4 separate regions of the Homo sapiens genome follow, and regions 2, 3 and 4 are each linked to region 1. Evidence: promoter capture Hi-C in human tissues and cell types (Jung and others, 2019). All regions are on one chromosome and are shown on one strand. The core of a region is centred on a gene start or on the middle of the fragment in contact, and the rest is flanking DNA. Distances in the headings are between cores, read along the strand shown.

Region 1 (4,445 bases), core at 657-3,156:
TGGTGAGCGCCCACACTCTGTCCTTGCTCTTGTGCTGTTTTTACAAAGGAGGGGACAGACAATAACCCAGGAAACAAATAATGACAAGATATGCAGTTTGATGAAGGACGTGGATAGGGTGCTGAGATAGAGAAGTATCAACTCTAGAGAAAGTGATCTTTAAGCTGAGACTTGAGCTGGAGGCATGCCTGTAGTCCCAACTCCTCAGGAGGCTGGGGTGGGAAGATCGTTTGAGCCCAGGAGTTCTGGGCTGTAGTGTGCAATGCCAATCAGGTGTCCACACTAAGTTTGGCATCAACTATGATGACCTCCTGGGGCTGGAGGACCACCAGGTTGCCAGGTGGCAAACAGCAGGTCAAAACTCCTGTTCGGATCAGTAGTGGGATCATGCCTGTGAATAGCCACTGCACTCCAGCCTGGGCAATATAGAGACACCCTATTTCTAAAAAAATACTACTAATAAAGAAAAAGGTGAAATTTGAATAGGAAAAAGGAGACACCCTTGGGAAGGTGGGGTGGAGGGGTTGGGGGTGGCTCCTAGTTAAGCTTGGAGGATAGAAGGAACCAAAAGACGGATGCACGGTGGTCTCAGGGAGGGAGGAATGAGCAGAGAAAGGCCCTAGGCCTGGAAATAATCATATTGAACACATGCTATCCTAATAGTGAACACCATCCTAAGTGTTTCACATGGTTTACCTTGTTTAATTCTCCTTGCAGCCCTGTGAAGTGAGCGTTATTACTGGTTTTATGCTGTAGAATCTGTGACACAGAGAGGTTGAGTAATTGCCCTAAGGTCACACAGCTTCTAAGTAGCAGTGCTGGATAGATCTGACTCCACAGACTGTGCTCTTAGCTGTGTCAAGCAGGAAGGCCCAGGGTTTCATCCAGAAAACAGAATGTGAAAAGGGACTGGAATGAAAGCAACCTGTACTGGGTGCAGAGGTGCTGTCGATAAAGGATGAGGGATGGGAAAGGAAGACAGAAGAAAGGCCTAGAAGATCAAAGGAGAAGGGTGTTCAAGGCTGCAGGCAGCACTGGAAGCCAGGCCAGCTCAGTTGACCACCTACTCTGGGCACATCCCCAACCCAGCCTGTCCCTTCAGGTCGGATTTGCAATTCTCCTGCTCTCCCTCCTCCTAAACACAAACAGGAGATTTACACTCTCAAAGTCTCTCCCCACAAATGACTTATTAATCACAAAGGGAAAAATTGTAACTTTGCAGTGGCACAACCTGGTCAATGCCAGCTTAACCAAGTGACCAAAGTGGATATTCAGGGAAGGCTCTGGAAGGGCATTTGGGGGAAGTGTAGAAAGGTTTTGTGAGGAGCACTCTGAATGACGGGGGTAGGAAGCCTTGGGGACTGAGGAGTCTACCCTAACAGGGCAGGGTCCAGAGGGGGAAGGAGGGGTATGTCTCGGGGGAAGGGAGAAGTATTGAGGTGGGGGAGGTTCTGAGGTTTGAGTGAGGCCCTGGGGAGGGACTTGACAGTTTGGGTGACAGGAGGGTCAGAATAGGGTCAGTATGGGATGTGTTGGGTGGGTAAAAGCTGGGTGAGTGCAGGGCTGGGGATAGGGTCTCCAAGGACAGTGAAAGGGTCGGGAGTCGCGGGCGAGGGCTCTAGGGCAACGGCCAGTGGAAGGGGGGGCTCCTGTGGCGTGAAGTCAAGCCAGCCCGAGGGTGAGGCGATTTGGACAGTCCGACCTGTGGCGGCGGGAGGGCGAGGGTGGCGGAGGGCGCGAGGTAGGCGGCGGGGCGTGCCGGGGCGGGGCCGGGGCGGGGCCGGCACCGCCCGGCGGGTCCCCCCGCGCTCCAGGGGGCGCTGTGAGCCTGGGCGGCCCCAGGCCGGGCGGCGGCCGCTCCCAGTGAGCGCGGCCCCTTTTCCGGGTTTCCTCCGCCTCCTCCTCCTCTCCTCCTTCTTCTCCGCTGCCGCCGCCGCTGCCCCTTTCCCGGCCGGTGGCTGCCGCTGCCGGTGCCGCCGCCGCCGCCTCCTGGGGGCCGCGAGCCGAGCGGAGACCGCCGCGGAGCGCGAGCGCCGCCCGCCCCGCCGCCCCGCCGGCCGCTCCAGGGCCGGGCCGGCTCGGCCGGCGCCCCCCGCGCCCCCAGCCCGCCCGCCCCCGCGGGCCCGGCCTGGCGCGGCCGCCCGCCGCCGCGCTCCTCCTCCTCCTCCTCCAGCGCCCGGCGGCCCGCTGCCTCCTCCGCCCGACGCCCCGCGTCCCCCGCCGCGCCGCCGCCGCCACCCTCTGCGCCCCGCGCCGCCCCCCGGTCCCGCCCGCCATGCCCGGCCCGGCCGCGGGCAGCAGGGCCCGGGTCTACGCCGAGGTGAACAGTCTGAGGAGCCGCGAGTACTGGGACTACGAGGCTCACGTCCCGAGCTGGGGGTAAAGCCGTCGCCGCCCCCCGCCGGGCCCGCTGATCCCTGCCCCCGCCCGGCCACCCCCTGCGAACCGCACTCGGGCCCGGTGGTGTCTCCCGCCGACCCCTCCGCGGGCCCGCAGGGAGGCAGAGGTCCCGCTCTCGCACATGTCCTCGTCTTCCTCTTCCCTCCCCTTTACCCCCGTTTCGTCCCTTTCTCCCCGCTTTGCGCACCCCTTTCCCCCAAGGAATGCTTTTTTACTCGGGGAGAAGTGTGGGGTCCAGGGATCGACGCCGGGTGGAAGTGAGGGAGCTGCCCTTCCTCACACTTCTGGGTTTCCACTGGGGTGGGAAGTCAACAGCTGTCCTTTGGAGCTATTAAAATGCCCTGCCTTTTAGGTTTTCTGAGATGAGGTGGTGGGAGGAAATTTCTTAAAGACGTCCAGATTTTTAAAACAGGCATTGTCTACCTTGAAGATGTGAAACGAGAAGCAGGTGCTGGGGAGCCGCGGGGCACAGGGGGCACCCTCTAGGCCTTCAGGACGGGTGCTTTGCTCGCCCCTCTGGATTGGCTCAGAGCGTTGCCTTCCTGCCCCATCTTCCCAAGTTAGGAGAGACCAATTAGGTTAGGAGCTCTGCAGAGTGAAGGGAGCCAAGATTATGTCGTGGCTTTCATTTAGGGAATGAGTTGTGACGTGATGTATAGACACTTCCAAGTGTTTGCCTGGTGGAAGCGGCTGAATGACGTGTACAGTGGGCATAGGCTTGGTTAACCCCCAGTCCTGGCATTTATGTGTGTGTCTTCCTTTTACAGTAATCAAGATGATTACCAACTGGTTCGAAAACTTGGTCGGGGAAAATATAGTGAAGTATTTGAGGCCATTAATATCACCAACAATGAGAGAGTGGTTGTAAAAATCCTGAAGGTGAGTGTCCTATGAGTGGTATGTAACATTTTCCTCCCCACAGGGCAAAAGTTTGTAAGGTACCCCAGTCACATTCTATAATGGGCAATGCAAGCTTGAATTTAATTTAATTTATTTGTTTAGAGTCAGAGTCTCACTCTGTCACCCAGGCTGGAGTGCAGATCATAGTTCACTGCAGCCTTCAACTCCTGGGCTCCAGTGATCCATCTCAGCCTCCCAAGTAGCTGGGACTACAGGTGCATGCCACCACGCCCAGCTATTTTTAAAATTTTTTTGTAGAGTCAGGGTCTGGTCATGTTGCCCAGGCTGGTCTTAAGCTCCTGAGCTCAAGCAGTCCTCCAAAAGGACTCCTTGCAGGCCTCCTATAGTTGCTGGGATTAGAGGCGTGAGCCACTGTGCCCAGCCGACGCTCAAATTTTATTTATCTGATGTCCCTTCATTACTTCTTTTTCCACCCCATTTTCCCATGAACTTTCAAGAAAATGTGCAGACATCACAAATCTAAGTTCAGTAAAGTGTTTGTTCTAAAATGTAAATTCCCTAAAGCAAAAATTCCAAAAGGGCTCCGTTTGTTAGAAAATAAATAGGTAATCAAAAGACAGAAAAGCCACTCTCAATTTAAGGGCTCCCTGAGCACTGTGTTTGTTACTCTTGGTGCATGCTGTATGTTATTCCAGAAAGAAAGTTGGAAAAAATTGGAGCGACTTCAGAAATGTATTTCAAGCCCAAGTGGAAGGAAATTCCTTAGCGGATAATCACTTGTTTTTTTCCTTTGGCAGTAAAGTTTCAGGTGGTATGGATACAGTGCACCAGTAGTGCTGAGAAGCCTTGTTGGGAAGCCAGAGAGCCATTGTTGCTTATAAGCTAGTAAAAATATAGAAGAGTTCATGTATAATTACTAAAGTAATAATTGGAACAAAACTATCTTAATATATGGTTTAGCAATGAATTTGATAATGATATGACGTTATCTCTTTGATGAAGATGATTTTAATTAGCATGAAGGGTCGGCTAAATTTTCCTTCTGGTAACTGATTGTGTAGCTTTAATAATGTTTTATAGGGTATAGTAAAAAGTAGTTCTTAGAATCTGTGATGGGTCCTCGTTATTGCCGGATCATTTCATGTGGATACAAGTCATTTAGTGAGAGATTGAGAAGACCGAAG
Region 2 (4,445 bases), core at 703-3,202, 380 kb before region 1:
AAAAAAAAGAATGGGTTTCTTAAAATTCACATTAAAAATTTTGTAAGTAGAACATCTAAATTGAATTTCAGATTTAATTTGGCCTTTTGGATAATGTATCAAAATATACACACATTCATTACATTTTAAACTGCTTTGGTCTTTTTTAGAATCCAAGTTTGAATTTCAAGGAAGTAACTTATGAACTGGACCATCCTGGATTTCAAATTCGTGACAGTAAAGGACTTCATAATGTGGTTTATGGCATTCAGAGGGGTTTGGGTATGGAAGTGTTCCCAGTAGACCTCATATATAGACCTTGGAAACATGCTGAAGGCCAGGTGAGTAAGTGGTATTTAGCTATAGATGGGGGAATAAAACATGACTTATTCTTTATGTAGTGCCATCTACCCATTGATCGAAATATTCTTGTAAAGTAGAATTTGTTATACATAGCACAGAAAAGCAAGGACTGTCCATAAGTATTGAAGGAATATTATCATAGTTTTAGTATTAGGCAGACTCCTTTAAGGTGTAACTGTCAAGGTGTTTTCCCAATAGTTTAATGATGTTCATTTCCAAGGCAACGTTAAGTTTCCCTAATTGGCTCAGAAATGTCTTTTAACAGTCAAGGTGTTTTCCCAATAGTTTAATGATGTTCATTTCCAAGGCAACGTTAAGTTTCCCTAATTGGCTCAGAAATGTCTTTTAACAGTTGTTATGATTGATAATCCAGACAGGGTTTCATTATGCACCTTTAATGTGTCTGAATTATGTGTGGTTTTCAAAGGGCAAATAATTAAGATTTTAAACGGGAAATTGCCATGCTAATAACCTTAAGATTGACAATAGCCTAGTGAAAACATTTCAGATTTTTATAGCATTCACAATCATTTATGGTGGTAAGCATTTTCTTTCATTGCAGCTCTCCTTCATTCAACATTCCCTTATAAATCCAGAGATCTTCTGTTTTGCTGACTATCCCTGTCATACTGTTGCCACTGATATTCTGAAAGCACCACCAGAGGATGACAATCGAGAAATTGCCACATGGTAAACACTTTGATTCATCTTTCATTTAAAAGATTACTTCTTATTTTGTGAAATATAAAGTTAATAGTAAGCCAAGTACATAGTTAACAGGTTTAAATGAAGCAGTAGTTTTAGTGACCTTACTTATCTTAAGTATTTATAGAGGGGGTTGGTAGATAAATTCTTTTTCAGTCTCTATCGTTAGTTATATCTTGTAAGGTCTGTCTTTAGGTGTTCTTTTAAAAGCATCAAATCTGAAAGTATCAAATGTTGGAAAGATTTGTACTTCCTCCTTTCTCCCTTAGTATTGAGATTTCTTCTCTGTAGAGCTTATGCCTTTTTTTTTTTTTATTTGTAAGTTGCTCAAGGTGGCCAACCTGTCAAATCTAATAGTTTTCTTTTCTTTTCTTATTTATATTTTTGGGATGGAGTCTCGCTCTGTTGCCCAGGCTGGAGTGCAGTGGCACAATCTCAGGAGTGCAGTGGCACAATCTCAGCTCACTGCAACCTCCGCCTCCCCGGTTTAAGCGATTCTCCTGCCTCAGCCTCCCGAGTAGCTAGGATTACAAGTGCTCACCACCGCCCTGGGCTAAGTTTTATATTTTTAGTAGAGATGAGGTTTTACCATGTTGGCAAGGCTGGTCTTAAACTCCTGACCTCAAGTGATCCATCCGCCTCGGTCTCTCAAAGTGCTGGGATTGCAGGTGTGAGCTACAGCACCTGGCCAAATCTAATGCTTTTCAGCTAAAGTATCTAGTTTCTCTGAGTTCCAGTTTCAAATTTTCGAGGTAGAATCTTAGTCCGGCCTGGTGTGTATATCAGGTTTCTCTTGGAACTCTGTCCCGTCATTCCTCTCTGTGAATGTGTGAAGAAAGAATGGTACAAGTACTTTGATCATTTTTGAAGTACGCAGGGCTACAGGGAGAGAGCGCGGCCTGAATTGTTCCCCAAAGGGATCTAGTTCATAATGTATCTTCAATTTTTTTCTATCTATACCCTCCCAGAACACATTTCTGTTATTGATCAAATAATTGTCTTTACTTTTTTTGGTGGTGGTGTGTTCTTTTCTTAGGTGGTAGCCAACATTAGATTTGAAAAATTGCTTATTTTTTTCCTTATGAGTCTAGTGTATATAGTAGTGTTTCTTCTTCATTTTATTTGAACAGATAAAGGGCTCTTTCCATTTTTATAAAGCTTAAATACCATTATCACATTAACAAATAACAGTTCCTTAATATAGGTAGTTATTTACATTTAAGTTCCCCAATTGGCTCAAAAATGTCTTTTAAAAATTTCTATGATTGAGAATCCAGACGCAGTCCATAGTTTCTTTTATTCTGTAAATCTGTCTTTGTTCTGTCTTTTAAATTTATTTTTTGCCATTGATTTGATAGAGAAATACAGCATTTGTTCTCTAGTCTACCCCATGTTATTTTCTTACCTGTTTTCTCATGGTGTTTACTTCATTCTCTATCCCCATGGTTTTCATGGGCTGAGGATAGAGTTAGATCTTCAGGCTCAGTTAAAGTCAACCAGTTTCAACCTCTTGGGGCAAAAATAATTCTTAAAGAGAGTGCTGTGGACTTCAAACTTCTAATATTAAAACATGACACCAACTTGGTTTTGTGCTTACAAGCTGGTATCACTTATTTTGAAAATTAATCTGTATACTTGGATTTTCATTGATAAAGCATGTTTCTTCCTTTCTCGTTAGGAAGAGCTTGGATTTGATTGAATCTCTGCTGAGGCTTGCAGAGGTTGGGCAGTATGAGCAAGTCAAACAGCTCTTCAGCTTCCCTATCAAACACTGTCCAGACATGCTGGTATTGGCCTTACTACAAATTAACACCTCTTGGCATACCTTGCGCCATGAACTTATCTCCACTCTGATGCCAATTTTCCTTGGAAACCATCCTAACTCAGCTATTATTTTGCACTATGCATGGCATGGGCAGGTAAGATGTGACCGTGTGCTTACCATTTTTTCATCTGAATAATTGATCTTCTTTGGAGTGTTGAGGAAGCTCAACCAGAGAAATTTTTTTTTACATCTCTGAATTATTATGACTTTAAAAGTCATACTGTCATAAAACTTGTTTTATCTTTTAGAATCATGTGAGCAATAAAATACAAGATCCCAAAAGCAAGGAGGCAAAATAATATTTAATAATTTTATTTTCTTTCCTTTTTTTTTTTTTTTTGAGATGGTGTCTTGCTCTGTCGCCCAGGCTGGAGTGCAATGGTGCAGTCTTTCTCACTGCAACCTCCATCTCCTGGGTTCAAGTGATTCTCCTGCCTCAGCCTCCTGTGGAGCTGGGATTACAGGCGTGCATCACCATGCACAGCTAATTTTTGTATTCTTAATAGAAGTGGGATTTCACCATGTTGGCCAGGATAGTCTCAAACTCCTGACCTCAAATGATCCACCCACCTCGGCCTCCCAAAGTTCTGGGATTACAGGTGTGAGCCACCACACCCGGCCAATATTTAATAATTTCAATATTAAGAAAGGTCTGTATTGCTAGGGCATCACTTTCCTTTTTATGCGAAGGAGCTTAAACATCTATCATGGAGGCAGAAGGTATTGATGTCATATGTTCACAAGAAATGAGAGATCACAGAGCAATTTTTAATTAGCACTCTTTTCTAATTTATCTAAATCCAACATTTACATTTTATTTCAGTTTGTGCTGAAATGCCTTTCAAGCCCCTGTGCTTTTTACCTCTAATTTTGTAGAATGTATTTGGCAAGTAAGTATTCTTTTGTCCACTGATTTTTTTCCCTCCCCTACTTTTTTTTTTTTTTTTGAGAGAGAGGATCTTGCTTGCCCTGTCACCTAGGCTGGAGTGCAGTGATGCAAACATGTCTCACTGCAGCCTCAACCTCCCAGGCTCAGTCAGTCATTCTGCCTCAGCCATCCTAAGTAGATGGGACCACAGGCACATGCCACCATACCCGGTTAATTTTTTGAATTTTTGTAGAGACAGAGTCTTGCCCTGTTTCCCAAGCTAATATCCTACATTATATGATACATGCAGAAAAAAACTTTCTTCCCCTTTACCCCGAGTGCCCTTTTTAGCTACTTTTTATCCTTTACCCATACTTGGAGTAGTTTATATTATATACAAGTGCTTTTTACAAATTAGTGAAATAAGGCTCTTTATTATAAGTGAAAAATGTTAGCCTTAGTTCTAGGTCATTCAGTTAGTTTCCCCTCCTTTCCTAGAGACTCAATTAACATTGTAGACTTTAACAGTTTACAAAATGCATGATAAACATTTAACCAAGCATTTGCAGTCCAGATGGTCTTCATTCCTTTCTCACCATAGCTGTGAGGTAGAAAGGGCTGGTAAACGAGCTGCATCTCCTCACTTGTGATTGAATACTTGTTCTAGCAGACCATCTGCCACTCTAGGACAATTAACTGGGATAT
Region 3 (4,445 bases), core at 704-3,203, 340 kb before region 1:
CTGCTAGTTTTCATGTTTCCCAACTTGGGCTTCTCACATTAATGGTTGCTTATTGTTCCCAGTGAGACAGTGAGAAATCTGATAATATTTACCAGCTTCAAGGGAGAATTGCACTGGCATCGTCCCATGTGAGGCATTTTCCAAGAGAAACTCTCAGTTAATTTATAAATGAGGTGACTCTTAGCAGGATTCAGGGAAATGAGAAGCCCTCTTCTGAACTGCATTTGTGTGTGCGTGCATGCTTAATCATGCTGTTATATGTTGTAATGACTCTTGTGTCCCTGAGCTTACCCACATGCAGACTTTCCACTTTCAAAACAGTTTATTTTGATTATTGAGTGAATTCTGTCAAAATAGGTTTTCTTCTTTCAAGGTTGGTGGTGTGGACCCAAAGCAGTTGGCTGTTTACGAAGAGTTTGCACGCAATGTTCCTGGCTTCTTACCTACAAATGACTTAAGTCAGCCCACGGGATTTTTAGCCCAGCCCATGAAGGTAAATGTGTTTTAGATTAAATTGAGTGTTTTGCCAATTAATTTAAATGTTTTTGACATTTAATATATGTTTTTGACTTGCTTCCTGGGAGAATAATTTACAGGGGAAAAAACACCTATAGTTTTTGAGTTGTAGGTATTCTTTGTGTCCAATTAAGTATGACATACAGGGGATTAAAGAAAAATTGACATGGGTGTGGGTGATTTAACTTTAATGTTCGGCCTAATTAGGGGAATTCTCATGGTAACATAATAACTTTCGGTTTTTTATTTTTAAATTTTATTATTTATTTTTTTGAGACAGGGTCTTTCTCTGTCACCCAGGCTGGAGTGCAGTGGCGCGATCTCAGCTCATTGCAACCTCCACCTCCCAGACTCAAGCGATCCTCCCACCTCAGCCTCCTGAGGAGCTAGGACTACAGGCGTGTGCCACCATGCTCAGCTAATTTTTGTATTTTTTGTAAAGATGGGGTTTTGCCATGTTGCCTAGACTAGACTCAAACTGCTGACCTCAAGTGATCGCCTACCTTGGCCTCCCAAAGTGCTGGGATTACAGGCCTGAGCCATTGTGCCCAGCCTTCCCATTTTTTAAATAAAAGAATTTTCTAAAATTTTCAAAGGTGTTTACAGAAAACTTGGAAATATAGGGAAAAATATTTTCCCCCGAACCGGTCGATAGTAAGTTGCTGACCTGATACCCCCATCGCTCCTGAATCCTTTGGTTTGTATTTCTTACAAAACCTTTTTCCTTTGGTTTGTATTTCTTAAAAAACCCTTTTCCTGTGTGACCATGGTACAACCATTAAGGTCAGAAATGAATACTAATAACCTTACTCCATCTAATTCATAGACCTCACTCGAGTTTCACCATGTATCCCAATAATGTATAGTAAAAGACCTGTTTTAGAATCACACATTTCTTCAGTTGTCATATTTTTAAAGTCTCCCTCAGTTCTAGCTGGTGTAGGTAACTCAGTTTTTCCTCATCTTTCATGACCATAACACTTCTGAATATTATAGGCTAATTATTTTCTAAATGACTTGATTTGTTTGTCCAGTGTATTCTCATGACTAGGTTCAGGTAATGTGTTTTTAAAAATAGGAATAGCTCAGAAGTAATGCTGTATTCTTACTCTATCCTATCAGGCTTTGACAGTTGGACTGAGTACTGTATTTTTCATGGTTTGAAACACTTACTTTCTTAGGATATAGAGGGCTTAGTAGATGGTACAAGTGGTGCTGCCCTCAGTCTGTCTCATTGTTACTAATGCTCTCTTTTATCACTTGATTATGCTGCTGTCTGCCAGGTTTTCCTCTCTCAAATGAAACACCTCTTCCCTTATGCCTGCCTTGTACTGTGCCACTTGATGGTATTAATTCTGAATAGCTCAGGAAGAAGGAAAAGAAGAGGCCCTCCATGTTTGAATGTAAAAATAAGAAAAAGGGAGTAAACATACTAGTAGACCTCTATTTGATACATGTGTCAATAAAAAACCTTAACATTCTTTTGTCTCTTGTTGGTTGTTTCCTTCTGTAAAACAGCAAGCTTGGGCAACAGATGATGTAGCTCAGATTTATGATAAGTGTATTACAGAACTGGAGCAACATCTACATGCCATCCCACCAACTTTGGCCATGAACCCTCAAGCTCAGGCTCTTCGAAGTCTCTTGGAGGTTGTAGTTTTATCTCGAAACTCTCGGGATGCCATAGCTGCTCTTGGATTGCTCCAAAAGGTTGGTTCTTAAGCTATTACTTTTAGAAAATGCTAGGTGTGTAAACATTTATTGACCTGCACCACCATCTACATATTTATGCAGTTATGCTTAAGATTTCATAATATAAATCAAGTTCTGTAAGTAGGTGATTTTTTTTTTTTCCAACGTAGAATGTAGTCATGGCAGTTTTGAATGGTAAACTTGGAAATCTTCATTTTTTTTCTTAAAGATATTCTGGAAATGTGATTTGAAGAAACTTTAAAAGGTAGCCCTTTAGAGGGGTGTGTGTGTCTGTGTGTGTGTGTGTGTGTGTGTGTGTAAGAGACAGGGTCTCTCTCTGTCAGGCTTGAGTGCAGTGATGTGATCATGGGCTTAAGTGAACCTCCCACATCACCTTCTCGAGTAGCTGGTATTACAGGTGCTCACTGCCAAGCCAAGCTAATTTTTAATTTTTTTGTAGAGACAGGTCTTGCTTTGTTGTCCAGGTCGTTCTCAATCTCCTGGGCTCAAGTGGCCCTCCCTCCTGAGCCTCCCAAAGCGCTAGGATTATAGACATGAGCCACTGAGCCCAGCTGCCCTTTAGATTTTGAGGGACAAGTTGATCCAATAATTTGGATCAGGGTAGGTAGGGAGCCCTGGATTTTAACTACAGCAGAGCCTTTTATGACAATGAAGAGCACAGAATGAACTTAAATCAGATAGAATTTAGAGTGTGTGTGATAGGCAACTGAAAGGGATGTTTGGAGAGTGGAAAGGACAGGGAGGCTTTGGAAGGTATTTGGTACTTGGCATTGAGATTTGGTTTCTGGCTGTGATAGTTGGGCCAAGCACTGTATTTTTCATGGTTTTGAACGCTTTCTTTCTCCCATAGGCTGTAGAGGGCTTACTAGATGCCACAAGTGGTGCTGATGCTGACCTTCTGCTGCGCTACAGGGAATGCCACCTCTTGGTCCTAAAAGCTCTGCAGGATGGCCGGGCATATGGGTCTCCATGGTGCAACAAACAGATCACAAGGTCAGTAGCCATCTTCGAAAAGTAGTGAGTATTGGACTGCGACTGCCTTTTGACATAGATAGTACTGTTTATGTCCAGGGGTTTCCCTTTTTTCTAGTAGGTAGGTCGGACACTTAGACTTCCTACTTCTGAGAGGTGAGAATTGTTAAGTAGTTGTTTTCCATCTGGTCTCTACCTTCTCCCCATGTTGGATATAGAAAACCAGTACCTTGTTTTGGGGAATAAATTGTAGGTCATTGTTTTAAAAGGTTACAGTGATTTCTCAGAAGTGGTATTCGTGTATAAGTATTTTAATGTCTTAAATGGAATACTCTGTATCCTAGGATTTGAAAGGAAAGCTTGGGCTATCTGTTCTATTTCATTACTGGCTGTTTTTAAATTTGGACACTGATTTGGAGTTGAATCTCAAGGCATTCTTAGTTTGGAGCAAATTTCCATTGAGTAAAATGGGCCCTTTTACAGTATGGTTAAGCCTATATGAGTAAAGATATTGAACTTTTTCTAGGTGCCTAATTGAATGTCGAGATGAATATAAATATAATGTGGAGGCTGTGGAGCTGCTAATTCGCAATCATTTGGTTAATATGCAGCAGTATGATCTTCACCTAGCGCAGGTATGGAAGGAATTTACTTGCACGGACAAAAGGACTCAGGGAAGTACGTTTGCTCTTAAGTGTTTTCCCTCTCACATTATGTTTTCTGTGTTGCCAGTCAATGGAGAATGGCTTAAACTACATGGCTGTGGCATTTGCTATGCAGTTAGTAAAAATCCTGCTGGTGGATGAAAGGAGTGTTGCTCATGTTACTGAGGCAGATCTGTTCCACACCATTGAAACCCTCATGAGGATTAATGCTCATTCCAGAGGCAATGCTCCAGAAGGGTGAGGATGAAATGCTTTGAGATCCCTGTGCATTTAGTAGTCTTCTAATATCTTTAGGAATGAATATGCAGACTTACTAACATTACTTGTTATAACTGCTTTACCAACCACATATGGGTGGGTAGCTTTGGTAAGGGCTAATATTGTCACTTGAAGTATGAAAGCCTAATTGACTGCCAAGTCTTCTTGGCACAGAGCAGTACATACGGTACCAGACTTAGTGTCAGAGTCCTATGTTTAAGCCCTGGTCATGCCACTTAAAAGCTTTCTGATTTTAGGCAAATTGACTTATCCTCCTTAAACCTATTCTTTATAGAAAATGGAAATAATTTCTCAAAGAAC
Region 4 (4,445 bases), core at 452-2,951, 310 kb after region 1:
GGCATAGCAACTCCAACAGAAAGAAAGCACCTCTTTCCCAGGGATTCTAGCAAAAGTTCCAGGACTCACTGTCATTGGACAGAATTGGGTCACATGCCAATTCTTGAGCCATTCGGTGTGGCCAGGGCACTATGGTGCTCTAAAGAGGCCTGGGTCACATACCCGCCCCTGGACTGAGAGTAGGCTGGGAGCAGGATCTCTAAAAGGCAGTCTTGATACTGTTGCAGAGGTTAGAGGAGAGGGTATGAGAAGCAAATGTCCGGCCCCAGAAGACAGTGTGTCCTCATATTTAATACTGTGTCTGTGACAATTTAAGATATTTGGGTCAGGCATGGTAGCTCACACTTGTAATCCCAGCACTTTGAAAGGCCAAGGCAGGAGGATCTCTTCAGGCCAGGATTTCAAGACCAGCCTGGGCAACATAGCGAGAACTTGTCTCTACAAATTTTTTCTTTTTTTCTTTTTAATTAGCCAGGCTTAGTGGCACATGCCTGTGGTCCTAGCTACTTGGGAGGCTGAGTTGGGAGCATCACTTGAGCCCAGGAAGTCGAGACTGCAGTGAGCTATGATTGCACCATTGCACTCCAGCCTGGGTGACAGAGTGAGACCCTGTCTCAAAAAATGAAAAATAAAAATTTGAAAGTGAAAACCTCTCACACAGGCAAAATGCCAAATGTCCCCACCCCCATAAACCTATGGGGGACATTAAAATTAGTTCTGGGACTTTTTTCTGTGACCAAAGCCAAGAATACCAAGTGGAATGATTACATTAATTATGTCTGTTCACGGCTGTCCTTTAGGAAGTCTGCTGGGGATCTGGAGAGGGACTGGGGTTAGGCAGACTGGGCTTAACAGTCTACACAGCAGAGTTCAAAGGAGCCCAGTGAACTCAGTCTCAATCCAGCCTGGTGTCAGAGTCCAGGAGACCCATCCAGATGTTGTTTGACAGTAGAAGTCTGGTGAGTGACATCAAAGCCATTTGGGGTACCAAGACATTCTCCAGATACAGCCACCAATGGCCCCAGACTGAGGAAAGATGTGATTGCCTGGCTCACAAACTGTCAAGGTCAAGGTGGAGCTGGCAAGTGGGGGTCTTCAGTGCTGGCTGCTGTGAGGGCTGACTAGACAGGAACTCCAAGGGTGCTCCCAGTACACCAAGAGCTTCAGCTGGGGTGGGCTTGTGGCTCCTAAGTGGTAGCTCTTCAGCAAGGGGGCTTTAAGATGGGAATTAAATTTGCATGAGTGTTCCATTAAAAGGCACTTCCCTTCCAAATCAGAACAACCAGGGCAGAATGGCAGAGTACAGGGAGCTCTTAACTAGACATTCAGAGACACAAATCCAAATCCCAGCTCTGTCACCCACTAGCTCCATGACCCAGGAAGCCCCTCAAGCTTTCCGAGACTTGGATTACTGAGGGTTGCCTCATGAGGTCATAAAGATCAGGCAGGATTACCTTGGAGGCCTTTTAGAAAAGCATGTTGAACACAGCAAAGCACTTTTCTAACTTCCCATGAGCTGCTGATTCCAGCCATAGCACCATGCTTCAGGAAGTTCCACGATGCTCACCATCTAAGCATCCTGCCCTGGAAATGTGTTGTCAAGAGTTTAGGGTGGGCTGGGCACAGGTGGCTCACCCCTGTCATCCCAGCACTTTGGGAGGCCAAGGTGGGCAGATCACTTGAGGTCAGGAGTTTAAGACCAGCCTAACCAACATGTAAAACCCCATCTCTACTAAAGATACAAAACCTTAGCCAGGCATGATGGCACACACCTGTAATCCCAGCTACTCGGGAGGCTGAGGCAGAAGAATCGCTTGAACCTGGGAGGCAGAGGTTGCAGTGAGCTGAGATCACACCACTGCACTCCATCCCGGGTGGCAGAGCAAGACTCCGTCTAAGAAAGAAAGAAAGAAAGAAAGAAAGAAAGAAAGAGAGAGAGAGAGAGAGAGAGGAAGGAAGGAAAGAAGGAAGGAAGGAAGGAAAAAAGGAAGGAAGGAAGGAAAGAAGGAAAGAAAGAAAGAAGACAAAAAGAATAGAGTGTAGGGTGGACAGGGGAGGGTGGGACAGGGGCACCAAAACATAGGGAAACACTGAGACAGAGGGAGAAGCATGTCCCAAGAGAGGCCTTGGGTTCTTGGAGCATTTTGGCTGCCCCCTCTCCATTCCTCCTTTCCTTCAATATCCTATGACTTGAGCAAATGGCGCAGGTCTCTCTGCACAAGCACATTGACTGCTCTCACTTGAAACTCACAAACACCACTTCACATGGGTCTTGGGCAGCTGAGGACCATCCTGGCCTCCTCTGGGGGCTGCTCCCTCTCCAGTTTCCTTCCGTGCAGAGATGGGGTCAGGCAGAGTGGGAGGGGCCACAGGTATCCGCAAAGGCTTGATTTAATTACCCAGTCCCCTACTGATGTGAAGACCATGGCCATCGTTTGTGGGAGGCAGCACAGGCTGGAGGCTGGAGGTATCCATCAGGTCCCCACACATGGGGTCAGCGCAGCCCAATAGCAGGGGTACCCAGCCCCAGGGTATCCCTGAGGATCTCAACCTTTGAGACTTCCCAGAAAGGGGGCCCAGCCCCAGCAGCCTCTCCCTTCATCACTTTTTACCCTGTTTGCTTGGAGTTTTTCTCATCCACTCCAGGAGTGCCCACCCCTGGTAACAGATGGTTGGTTCAGCCTTTGCAGAGGCCTTGCGGGTACTCCCTCAGAGTCACTGCCTGGCTTGCTTCAATAGCTCGGGGGAGGGGCCCTGAACTTGAAACAACAGCCTCATCCCAGCTTCCAGCCCCACAGCCTAGATCTAAGACATCCCAAGACTTTCCACGAAATCCAACCGGGACTTTTAATCTGTACACTTCCCCATAATGTATTTTGTTTCTCCTAAATAACCCCGATGCGGCTCCACCCCACCCACTAGATTTCACCCGCTGTGTGTTCCGCTGCCCTCTTTGGGGGTCCAAAAAGGCTGGAACAGGGAGGTGTCCAAGACCCTTCCAAGACCCCTCCGAGAGTCTGTGCCTCACGAGTCACCCTTTCTGGATTCCAGGCCAAGAGCTCGCAAGACGTCAAGGGAGAGGAAGGCTCCGCCGCCCCAGACCAGCACACGCACCCAAAGGAGGCCGCCACCGACCCACCCGCGCCCCGGACGCCCCCCGAGCCCCCGGGGTCTCCACCGAGCTCTCCACCGCCTGCCTCCCTTGGGAGGCCGGAGGGAGAGGAGGAGGGGCCGGCCGAGCCCGAAGAGCACTCGGTGAGGATCTGCATGAGCCCGGGCCCGGAGCCGGGAGAGCAGATCCTGTCGGTGAAGATGCCGGAGGAAAGGGAGGAGAAGGCGGAGTAAGGTGGGGTGAGGCGGATCCCGCGCGCAGTTCCAGCAGGTGTGTCCCCAGCGCCCGCTGCGCCCCTGCGCCCCAGCGCCCCACCTTCCCCCACGGCTCAAGAGAAGATGCTTTTCCGTAGTCGTGACCTCAGTGGCTGCAGCTCTGACCGTCCCGCCAGCACGCCAGCCCCGACTCAGCTCCTCGCGGGGCTGGGCCTGAGCTCGACAAGTTGCATCAAGTGTTCGAGTCCCTGAGCTCTCACTATCATTTGAGAGCCCTACCTTTTCCTGACTGTTCCTCTTTTTAAGAACAAAATGATTTTCCACTTTTAAAGTTCATGGGTGAGGGATAAAATGAGGCTCCAATACATGGGAAGCTTTGCTGAAAAAGTAAAGTGTTATTGAATGTGTGGGGTTTCCCCTCAGGAATTTGTCTAACACATTTCAAGGATAGAAAATACTTCACTGCCGGGCATGGTGGCTCATGCCTATAATCCCAGTGCTTTGGGAAGCCGAAGCAGGAGGATCACTGGAGGCCAAGAGTTGGAGAGCAGACTGGGCAACATAGCGAGACCTCATCTCAAACAAAAACAAAAACAAACAAAAAAACAATAGCCAGGCGTGATGGTGTGCACCTGTAGTCCCAGCTACTGGAGAGGTTGAGGCAGGAGGATGGCTTGAGCCCAGGAGTTTCTGGCTGCAGTGAGCTGGACACAGTGAGACCCTGTCTCAAAAAAACTAAAAGATAGCCCTGCACAGTGGTTCACATCTGCAATCCCAGCAGTTTGGGAAGCTGAGATGGGAGGATTGTTTGAGACCAGGAGTTCAAGACCAGCCTGGGCAACATATTGAGACCCCATCTCTACAAAACAGCAGCAGAAACAAAAGCAAACAACAACAACGTACACAAACAAAAAAACAAAGAAAGGAGGGCAGCCCGAGCTGTTCAGCTGAGAATTGCCATGGTTCTGAGCTGAGCTTGGGACGCGGTTTTCCTTTGCGGGCAATCACAGTAGGGGGCTAGATGCCCATTAAGGTAGTTAGTGCTTATCTTCCCCAGACTCTATTCAATTCCAATGCAATGCCATTATCTCAGAACAGATAGAAGGGAAATGGACTTA

Evidence for each region. The method cuts DNA at HindIII sites, captures the fragments that hold promoters and counts their contacts. A contact is called where the count stands out against the background at its distance.
Region 2: a fragment that was not itself captured here is called in contact with the fragment with the promoter of CSNK2A2 in region 1 in 1 of the 25 tissues and cell types used here (pancreas).
Region 3: a fragment that was not itself captured here is called in contact with the fragment with the promoter of CSNK2A2 in region 1 in 4 of the 25 tissues and cell types used here (adrenal gland, bladder, dorsolateral prefrontal cortex and 1 more).
Region 4: a fragment that was not itself captured here is called in contact with the fragment with the promoter of CSNK2A2 in region 1 in 2 of the 25 tissues and cell types used here (liver and spleen).

The regions. Positions count from the first base shown.
Region 1 is chr16:58,195,567-58,200,011 of GRCh38, reverse strand. It overlaps CSNK2A2 (casein kinase 2 alpha 2), which reads left to right and starts at 1,906. Exons shown (of 12, transcript NM_001896.4): 1 at 1,906-2,379; 2 at 3,168-3,279. The coding sequence starts at 2,276. It also overlaps the pseudogene RN7SL645P. RefSeq lists silencers at 1,553-1,682, 1,733-2,002, 2,403-2,472. The HindIII fragment of the contact is 10,880 bases long and covers 1-4,445 here.
Region 2 is chr16:58,577,220-58,581,664 of GRCh38, reverse strand. It overlaps CNOT1 (CCR4-NOT transcription complex subunit 1), which reads left to right. Exons shown (of 49, transcript NM_016284.5): 11 at 150-320; 12 at 905-1,032; 13 at 2,726-2,966. Among named protein-coding and RNA genes, the nearest start is that of SNORA50A, 20 kb to the right of the region's middle. The HindIII fragment of the contact is 5,349 bases long and covers 1-4,445 here.
Region 3 is chr16:58,537,549-58,541,993 of GRCh38, reverse strand. CNOT1 (CCR4-NOT transcription complex subunit 1) reads left to right here. Exons shown (of 49, transcript NM_016284.5): 34 at 374-493; 35 at 2,035-2,226; 36 at 3,080-3,222; 37 at 3,728-3,836; 38 at 3,934-4,103. Among named protein-coding and RNA genes, the nearest start is that of SNORA46, 8.9 kb to the left of the region's middle. The HindIII fragment of the contact is 7,254 bases long and covers 1-4,445 here.
Region 4 is chr16:57,883,064-57,887,508 of GRCh38, reverse strand. It overlaps CNGB1 (cyclic nucleotide gated channel subunit beta 1), which reads left to right. Exons shown (of 33, transcript NM_001297.5): 33 at 3,052-4,445. The coding sequence ends at 3,345. Among named protein-coding and RNA genes, the nearest start is that of KIFC3, 83 kb to the right of the region's middle. RefSeq lists enhancers at 2,827-3,374, 3,375-3,922. The HindIII fragment of the contact is 6,440 bases long and covers 1-4,445 here.